Linked DNA regions of Homo sapiens: region 1 is linked to region 2. The links are contacts of gene promoters, found by promoter capture Hi-C in blood cells and fetal thymus (Javierre and others, 2016). All regions are on one chromosome and are shown on one strand. Each heading gives the region's core, a stretch centred on a gene start or on the middle of the fragment in contact. The rest is flanking DNA. Distances are from core to core; before and after follow the strand shown.

The links. The method cuts DNA at HindIII sites, captures the fragments that hold promoters and counts their contacts. A CHiCAGO score of 5 or more calls a contact.
Region 1: a fragment that was not itself captured here is called in contact with the fragment with the promoter of FAT4 in region 2 in 2 of 17 cell types (megakaryocytes and endothelial precursors); the score reaches 5.1 in megakaryocytes.

The regions. Positions count from the first base shown.
Region 1 is chr4:125,698,214-125,703,016 of GRCh38, reverse strand. No RefSeq gene overlaps it. Among named protein-coding and RNA genes, the nearest start is that of MIR2054, 190 kb to the right of the region's middle. The HindIII fragment of the contact is 1,561 bases long and covers 1,137-2,697 here.
Region 2 is chr4:125,312,526-125,317,457 of GRCh38, reverse strand. It overlaps FAT4 (FAT atypical cadherin 4), which reads right to left and starts at 2,503. Exons shown (of 18, transcript NM_001291303.3): 1 at 1,481-2,503; 2 at 1-1,058. The coding sequence starts at 1,046. The HindIII fragment of the contact is 5,556 bases long and covers 1-3,546 here.

The DNA.
Region 1 (4,803 bases), core at 668-3,167, 390 kb before region 2:
CAGAGATTTTTTTGTTTCAGTGCATGTCCTACCTACTCTTAAATACCAAAATAGTTGCATGTATCTTTGTTTTGGGTGTGTGTATGTTTTGCATTGTTCTTCAATTTATGTTTTAGGGTAAAAATAAATGTGATTAAGCAAAGCATATAGACATCGACATTCAAAAGCACTCTTAAAAGAAAAACTTCAGACAAATTAAATGTAACACAGTTTATTTGAGCAAAGAACAATTCATGAATGGACAGCATTCAGAACCAGAGGAGGTCCAGAAAGTTCTGCTTCACAAAGTGAGCAGGGAGCTTTTATAGACCAATAAAGGAAACAAAGTAATTACCTGATTGGCTACAGCTAGGCATTTTGGTGAGCTGTGATGAAGCATTTGCCTATTTGGTTACATCTGATGAATGATCAGACCAAGAGCTGGTTGGCTGTTTGTGAATGGCTGAGGCACATTTTTTTCTTAAGTCAGTTACAAAAAATGTTTCCAAGTTAAGTTTCTGTTTTCTTAGAAAAGAACTCCTGGTACAGATAACAACCCCAGGCTAATGGCCTCTTGATTATTTTGCTTGAACAGTATTCTGAGACCTATAACTCAATAATAAAAAGCAATATATAGATTCTTTTGTGAAAATGAGAATGCAGATCTCATGATCTGGAAAACTATACACTGTACACTTGGCCTAGTTTCACTGATGAGCCTTGCTCCACCGGATTAGACTTAAAAGCAATTCAGTAAAGTATACTGCATACATCTAGTTAGTAAAAACTAAACTATTATTTGATTTTAAGAAGATAAAATTAATCTTCATTGTGCGCAGCATATACAATGCTAATTAATAACTGCTCAGATGCTTCCATTCCAAATACATTATGCCATAAGGAATATTTCAATACTGTGTGTTTTACCAACTCAAGCCCTCTCCAACAATGTGCTAACACAAACAATTGAATAATGAAATATTCTGCATCAGCTAGATATTCCTACACAAAAAGTCGTTCCAAAATTTAGTGGACTAAAAATAAATGTGTTTTTGCTCACGAGTCTACAAGTCAATTGAGTAGTTGTTCCAGTCTAGAGTTCCCTCATCACCTGTGATTATCTGTGAATCACCTTGGCAGCTCTGCTTCTAGAAGCTTGCTTGATGTTCATGATGGTGCTTTAGTTCTCCCCCATGCCAAGTTTGGGTTTGTTCATCTGGTAACTGAGCAGGATTTAAGAGAAGCAAGTTCTTTTGAAAGTATAACTCACTTTAAAACTTCATTGGCTTGCTCTGATGAATCAGACTCAAGTCCATTCTAACAACCAAATCCACCATTATTTGGGAAACATGTGTCTCTTTCTTACTCACAGATTCTTTGTCTATGTCAAGCTGTTACGGGACAAGAACCTGAAGTTTCTTAGAAACCCTTTAATGTAGCTGAAAGCAAAACCTGGGCACATTTGATTAGATCTTGTCCTCAGAACTTTTTTGTTAGAACTCTTATTGTTTGAGAAGATGGAAGATGAGAAATAATTTTATTTATTTATATTCCTTTAAATTCTCCTTGAAAACTAGCAAGTTCTTTGTCTAGCTCAAAGTTTTCAAGCTAAGCCTGCAGGACAAATTCAGCTTACTACCTGTTTAACTATGGGCTGTGAACTGTTACTGTTTTCTACATTTTTAATGATTTAAAAATCAAAAGAAGGATAATATTTTGTAGTGCATGCAAATTATTTTATATTCAAATGCTAATGTCCATAAATATTTTTTTGAAACACAGCTACACTTATTTATTTACATGTTGGCCCTGGCTGTTTCTGCATTTAGGACAGGAAATTTCAATAGTTGAGAAAGAGACAGTAAAGTCACAAAGCAAAAAATATTTACTATATGGTCTGCATATAGCAGCTGCATTTACTATATGCAGCATTTACCATATGCAGCTAAAAGAAGTAAACATCTACTTTCAACTTTTTGTCTGAAAATCATTTTGCCAAAGTCCAAAAGTTTATTAGAAACATGTATATTGGTATAGTCGTGCCTATTGTTTGTTATTTTGTAACATGAGGCTCTATTTTCCCAGACTCTAATTGCAAGCTCTCACCGTTTCTCCAGTTTCTACTAAATATTTGCTCACCATGTTTCCCATTGCCTGCTTGCTGCTTCACTCTCAAACCAGAGTCTCACATTTTAGGTCAGTGGCACTCTAGTTCTATGCATCAATTCCTATATTAGTTACCTCTTTCAGTATAAGAAATAAACACAAAACTCTGTGGCCTAAATAAATAAGCATTTATTATTGCTCCTAAGTCTGTGGGTCACCTGGATAATACCACTTCTCCTGCCTATGCTTGCTCATGTGCCTGAAATTAACTTATAGATTGGGTGAAGGGTAGATGGGATGGTCTAGAATGACCTCTTTCACATATCTCTTAGTTGGCTGGCTGTTGGCTGGGATGGCAGGAATGGCTGAGTAATGGGCCTCTCTTCCTCAAGCAGGTGACCCTGTGCTTATTTACATGTTGGTGGTAGCATTCCAAAAAAAAAAATGAGTTGGAAGCATGCAAGTTTTCTTGATAGACCGGGAACTATAACTCCATAGCTTCTCTCACAGTATTTTAATGAAGGCAACCCAGATCAGACTTAAAGAGTGAATAAATAATTCCTTTCTCTTGATAAGATAATCATAAAATGTATAATAAAATTTTAAGAAGCTTTTGGGGCGGGCGGATCACCTGAGGTCGGGAGTTCAAGACCAGCCTGACCAACATGGAGAAATCCTGTCTCTACTAAAAATACAAAAAAATTAGCCAGGCATGGTGGCGTATGCCTGTAATCTCAGCTACTCTGGAGGCTGAGGCAAGAGAATCGCTTGAACCCGGGAGGTGGAGGTTGCGGTGAGCCAAGATCACGTCATTGCACTCCAGCCTGGGCAACAAGAGCAAAATTCGGTCTCAAAAAAAAAAAAAAACAAAGAAGCTTTTGGTATACAGACTATACAGGTGTACAAAGCATACAACCAGACAATTATTTGCTAATGGTCTTCAAATCTGAATATATTATGGACAAAAGAATTTTAAAAATCTTTTACAGTCCTAACAATTTAATAATGATAAATTGATGATGAAATACCCACAGTGGGTGATTAGCACTGGTGAAGATTATACTTTAGATAGAGAATTAGGGAAAGGACATGCCAAATAACCAAGGAAATATAAATCCAGGTAAATCAAAGGTCATCCTTTTTTAGTATAAGTTTGGGAGGAAGGTGTCTTTTTTAATCTTTTCCTAAGTGATCCACCTAAAAGCTCTTCCTCTATATTTTGGGATCCTCCTCTCTGCCCTTAGTTCTGCTTTGGGATGCTCCTTATTTTATTACTAGTTACTTCTTGAATGCCTTTTTTTTTTTTTTTTTGCACTTGCCCTTTTTAGGACTTTATTATCTTTTGCATGGAGTCAATGGAATAAGAAATACTAGGTCATACAATTTTACTATGTTGTTTTGTATTTTTAGTTTTCTTTTGTTTTTTGGTTGGTTGATTTTTGTTTTAACTTTTATTTTAGGTTTGGGGATACATGTGCAGGTTTCTTATATAGGTAAACTCATGTCATAGGGGTTCATTTTACAGATTAATTCATCACCCAGGTACTAAGCCTAGTACCCAATAGTTATTTTTTCTGCTCCTATCCCTTTTCCCACCCTCCACCCTCAAGTAGCCCTCAGTGTCTCTTGTTCCTTTCTTTTTATTCATAGGTTCTCATCATTTAGCTTCCACTTATAAGTGAGACTATACGGTGTTTCATTTTCTGTTCTGAGTTAGTTTGCTAAGGATAATAGCCTCCAGCTCCATCCATGTTCCCACAAAAGACATTATCTCATTCTTTTCAATGGCTGTATAGTATTCCATGGTATATATGTACCATATTTTCTTTATACAGTGTGTTATTAATGGTCATTTAGGTTGATTCCATGTCTTTTCTATTATGAATAGTGCTGCAGTGAGCATTTGCATACATGTGTCTTTATGATAGAATTATTTATATTCCTCTGCATAGACACCCAGTAATGGGATTGCTGGGTTAAATGGTAGCTCTTTGAGGAATGGCCATACTGCTTTCCACAACGGTTGAATTAATTTACACTCTCACCAACAGTGTACAAATGTTCCCTGTTCTCCACAACCTCACCAGCATCTGTTGTTTTTTGACATTTTAAGAATAGCCATTATGACTGCTGTGAGATATCTCATTGTGGTTTTGATTTGCATTTCTCTAATGATCAGTGATGTTGAACTTTTTTCATATGATTTTTGGCCACTGCAACCTCTGTCTTCCCAGGTCCAACTGATTCTCATGCCTCAGCCTCACAAGTAGCTGGGACTACAGGTGTGCACCACCATGCTCGCTAATTTTTGTATTCTTGTAGAGATGGGGTTTCATCATGTTGGCCAAGCTGGTCTCGAACTCCTGACCTCAAGCAATCTTCCCACCTCAGCCTCAAGATTGCTGGGATTACAGGCATGAGCCACTGTGCCCAGTCCTTTGCCCACTTTTTAATGGGGTTGTTTTTCTCTTGCAAATTTGTTTACGTTCCTTATAGATGCTGGATATTAGATCTTTGTCAGATGCATAGTTTGCAGATACTTTCTCCCATTCTGTACGTTGTCTGTTTACTCTGTTGATAGTTTCTTTTGCTGTGCAGAAGCTCTTAAGTTTAATTAGATCCCATTTGTCAATTTTTGTTTTTATTGTGATTGCTTTTGTGTCTTTGTCATGAAATCTTTGCCCGTTTCTATGTCCAGGATGGTATTGCTAGGTTGTC
Region 2 (4,932 bases), core at 1,254-3,753:
TTGTCATTCACGTCCAGCAGCTGAATCAGCGCCTCGGCGCGCCCAGTGAGGGAAGGCACGCCTCTGTCCATCGCCTGCACCGTAAGCGAGTATTGGCGCCGAGCTTCGAAGTCCAGGGGCTCCCGCACCGTGATAAGTCCCGTCTCAGGGTCCATTTGGAAGGGGGTCCCCTCGTCCTGCAGGCGATAGCGGATGTCCGCGTTGGTGCCCTCGTCCGCGTCCGCCGCCGCCACCTGGAGGACGCTGGAACCCACAACCGCGTCCTCAGGCACCCCCGCCTGGTAGTGAGAACTGCCAAAAACCGGGGGGTTGTCATTAATGTCTTGCACAGTCACGTTTACCTGAAGGTAGCCCCGCCGCTTAGGCTCACCCTTGTCCTCCACCTCAACCAGGAGCTGGTACTGCGGAGTGACCTCACGGTCCAGTCCGCCCTTGGACACCAGATGCAGGAACGCTCCCTCGCCGCTCGGGTTCAGGGTGATGTCCAGACGGAAGCGCCCCGCCTCATTGCCGCGGATGATGCGGTAGGAGCGGTGGTCCACACCGTTTGAGCCGATGTCCGAGTCGGTGGCGGTGTCTAAGATGACTTGGCGTCCGCTGCTACTGTCTTCCTTGAAAGTGACCACGATAGAGGGGTCCGGGAAAACGGGGGCGTTGTCATTGAGGTCCCGCACCAGCACTCGCACTTCGGTGGGGTAGGTGGGCGCGCTGGAAAGGACCACCAGGTTGATCACGTCGCTGGGCAGGCTCTCGCGGTCGATGGTGGAGGTGGTGTACAGGGCTCCGGTGCTACTGTTTATGGCAAACAGGGCGTGGCTTTCGCTGAGCCTGTAGGTGAAGCCGGGGCGCGTCTGGATGGTGCCTACCAGAGTGCCTGGAGGTTGCTCTTCCAGCACTTGGAACACCTGGCGCGGCTCGGCCCCGTGGACCCAGGCCTGCCCCGGAAGCAATGACAGTAGCCAAAACACTCGAAGGAGCTGAGATACTGATAGAGTGTGCAACGGGAGCCACGGGCGGCCAGTAGCCCTGTCTGGTGCTAAGTCCATGGTCCTGGCTCCCTAAAACGATGTGATAAAGAGAAGGAAGGGGTGAAGCAAACGCAATGATATTTACAGGGATTAAGGAGCGCCAGCAAAGATTCAGCTGACGGCTTGGTCTGAGACCTCTGCTATTTCAAAGAACCTCCAGTCCGGCAAAAGCAAGTAGCATCAGCAAAAGACTCTAGGTAGCCAGTTGAACGCGGAGTGCAAGAGAGATGCTGTGGCGAAAAGCGGCAGGGCATTCCGCGGGACACTCCTGTGAGCTGAGTTCCCAGAAAAGTTTCTCAAGCCTCTTATATATGCCCCCTTTTACTTTGTTTTTGAATCCAGATAGTCTGAGCGTTTTCACCCGGGTGGATGAGAGTTGGGAGAAGTTGCCTGTATCTAAGGTATATGAGGAATCATTGCAAAGAACGGTCTTCAGAAACTTTAGAACTTACCCGCAGCGAAGAACGTGAAGAGGGAGGAACAAACGTCCAAGCACAACTGCGCACCGGGGAAGGGGTGGTGGGGAACCGGGAGAATCGAATTTCTTTCCCAAAAGCTGGAGGCGATGGAATTCCTGGAGTCCCCACTCCTCAAAAACCAGGCTGCAACGCCCCTCCAACAGGGCGCCGGCAGTGGCCGCTGAGGCCCAGGCGGCGGCGTCTGCGCGCAGGCAGTTCGGGAACTGCGTTCCAAGCGCTAGCGTTCGCGCTCTGGCTCCCGTACCCGGGAGCGCTCAACTCTGCCCCTTCCCCTCCTGCAGCCGCCGCCGCCGCCGCCCCTGTTGCGGCTTCAAGCCCGTGGTCCGGCACAAACAACAGCCAGGGCTCCTCGGCATTTTTCACCTCTGCCGGGGCGCCTGCCGACCCATTATTTGTACATCCAAATCGAACGCAGTTTCCCCTTTCTTCTCGGCCTCGCAGGGGTCGGGCAGAAACAGCGTGCGGTCCCCGAGTCGCCCTCCCCTCACCATGCCAGGGGGGGTCGTTCTCCGGCGGCCCCAGTCAGAAGCCCACTCTAGCGCGCCTCGCCCCTGCCCTCGCTATCTCTGCTTTTATTGTCCCGTGTCAGTTTCACTTTGTAATCCACAAGGCTTTTTGTTTGGGGCGGGGGGTGGTTGATGCCTCTCTCTCCTTCACAGTTGGCAGCGGAGGCGGCGAAGTCGGCGCTGGGCTGTAGTGACGCCCTCCGCAGCTCCGGACGGCGCCTGTCAGCGCTCTCCCTCTCGCCGGCCGGGGCCGAAGGTTGGACTGCGGTGGAGCTAGGGCTCCGCGAGCCCTTCTCCACCTCCCGCCTGGTCCCTCACACTCTCCCCGCCCCTTCCCCGCCGCACAGGCATGCACACACACACACATACACACGCACACACACACACACAGCGCGTCGCCGAAACACAAACAGAGGGGGAGGGAAGACCGCGAGCTGGAGCAGCACTCAGAAACTTTGCTCGACACTCATTGATCCCCGCACTTTAGTTCGCCTGGACTCCCCCTAGCTCCCAGTCCTGTCACCTTCTGCCCCTCCCTCGCCCCAGCCCCATTGGGCCGGAGCTGAAGCAGCCCCGACCGGCACTCCTACCGCGAGCGCCCTCCGCCTTGCCCGGCCTCCGACTGGCTTCTCGGGATGCTAATCACTTCAGCCTCCCGGAGGGCTGTAGGCGGTCTGGTGTGGGAGCACAGCGAGGCGGAGGCGCTAAAAAGGGGGGTGATTTTTTTTCTTTTCTTTTTTTTTTTTTTTTTTCCTTTTCGGCCAAATCTTGGCCGGCGTCAGAGCAATAACAGCAAAAGGCTGCCGCAGAATAGATGGGGGTGGGGTCAGGTTTGCAGATAAATAACTTTAGTGGCAGGGTCTGGGGGAAGACCGTTAGGTTGTTATGCTAGTAATAACTCAGGGGTAAGGGGGTCGAGAGAAATAAAAGAAAGGCGGGGGGTGAGGGTCTGTTAAAGCGGGGAGGAAGGATTAAGCAAAGCCTGTCTGGGAATGCACAGTGCAGATTTGCTTTAACCATTTCCTGCCCCTTCTCTCTTTATGCAAGGGATAGAGCTGCCATACAGTGTGATCCCACAGAATCCAAATCAAATCCTCCCCTTTGCTCCTCTTTCTACACAGTGGGCTCCCTGCTGTCTAGGGCGAGCTAAACTCTAAATCTTCACTCACTTGCCCCTCTCCCCCACCTTCCAGGTGACTAGGGGGCAGGAGGCCTCCGTAGCAAGGGCACTTTGGACTTCCTACTATAGGAAAGGCCAGGGGAACTCAGTGTTTGTTTTGTTTTCTTTCCCAACTGGATTCCAGGTGCCAGTAGCCCAAACCTTAGGGTTTCAACAACAATAATAATGGCAGCCCTTTGAAAAGAGGGAGATCTTTTCCTGTTGCAAAGTTAGTTTGGAATTTTGATCCCTGATGGAGTATTTCCACCTCCACATTTTTTAGTCAAAGGAAACCTAATAAAGTTTTATTTTGCTTTTCAGTCTGGGAGAAATAGATACGAGAAAGTAGAAATAAATAAAATAATATTTAAGCTTAAGTTTTTAAAAATACCCACATGCCACTTAATGCACTCAGATCAACTCACCCACTATTCACTGCAGTTAATTTTTGTGGTGGCATGCATCGTTTCTTTAAAAGAAGAAAAACGTTACTAGGAATCAGATCGATATTTTTCCCCTTTAAGGGAACCAACCTAGAAAATAAGAATTCAAGCCAAACAATGCAAATACAGGGCATATGTCATACATTTCTGCCACAAGGATCCCTCACAAACGTAAAACTTTCTGCGCCCAGAGAGGGTTCAGTCATGAGTAAATACTGCCCTCTGCTGTTCTACGTCAGTCTTACATCTTTAGTCTCCTGGTTTCTTGCTTAAAATTAAATGCAGAGACTAAAAGGATCGGATTACAAGGCTAATTCCTGCTTCTTGCCTAGGGATAGCAGCAAAGAAAACGATCTCTAAGACTTTCCTAGTGCCTTTCTTATTTAGAGTAAAAAAAAAAAAATCAAGAATAGTAGGACAGACAGCAAATTCAAGTCTTGATGATGCAGGCAGCCTGTAACTCAAAACTGATTTATGGAAACATGATTTCTAAAGCTATCACCAATTCCTCTGTTTAGGTTAAAAAGCTAACTTCTACATATTCCTCTACTGTAATGTAATGAGTTAACTGGAAACAGACAAAAAAGTTAAATTTAACCATTTATGTATTTTAAAACTTGAAAACATTAGACTCTAGACTTTTTAGAGACATTTAAGCCTGTTTTTCAAAAATCGTATTTTTCTTAAGTTACAATCCTAACACCATTATTTTTGGTATAATTTAGCCAAAAAATATTTGTAGATTAACTAAAGTGGCAAACAAATTTTTACAAATTTTTACAAATCATGTCTGTGTGATTTTAAGAGAATATTACTGTTTTGTTTTATTTTGTTTCCTAATGCACTATTATTCAAGTATTTATAGAGAAATAAACAGAAAGAAATCATTCAGATACTTGTTGTAGGAGATCATGGACTTTTGTTGGTTTGCTTGTTTTTTTTTGCCTGTGGGATAATCTTCAGATTTAGTGTCAATAGTATTACATTTGCATTATATATGAGTGAATTTAATTTGGGAAACAGGTGAAGATCATTCATTCTGTGAAATGGAAAGTATTCAATCAGTGCAATATGTATACATTTTAGTTTTACAAAACAAGATATGGCAAAATAAACTAATACAGAAAATATATAGAGAGATAGAGTACATAAAAATTTTTTGGACAATTTCAAAAGAGGATTATCGAAAATTATTTAGCCAATAGTGTGGTTATTTTAACAAGTAGAAACTTTTCGCATGATGACTACTTTAAAGTAACATATTCATTTATAGATAAAACCTATACATGAATTTACAATCTATGTATAGATAGGTAC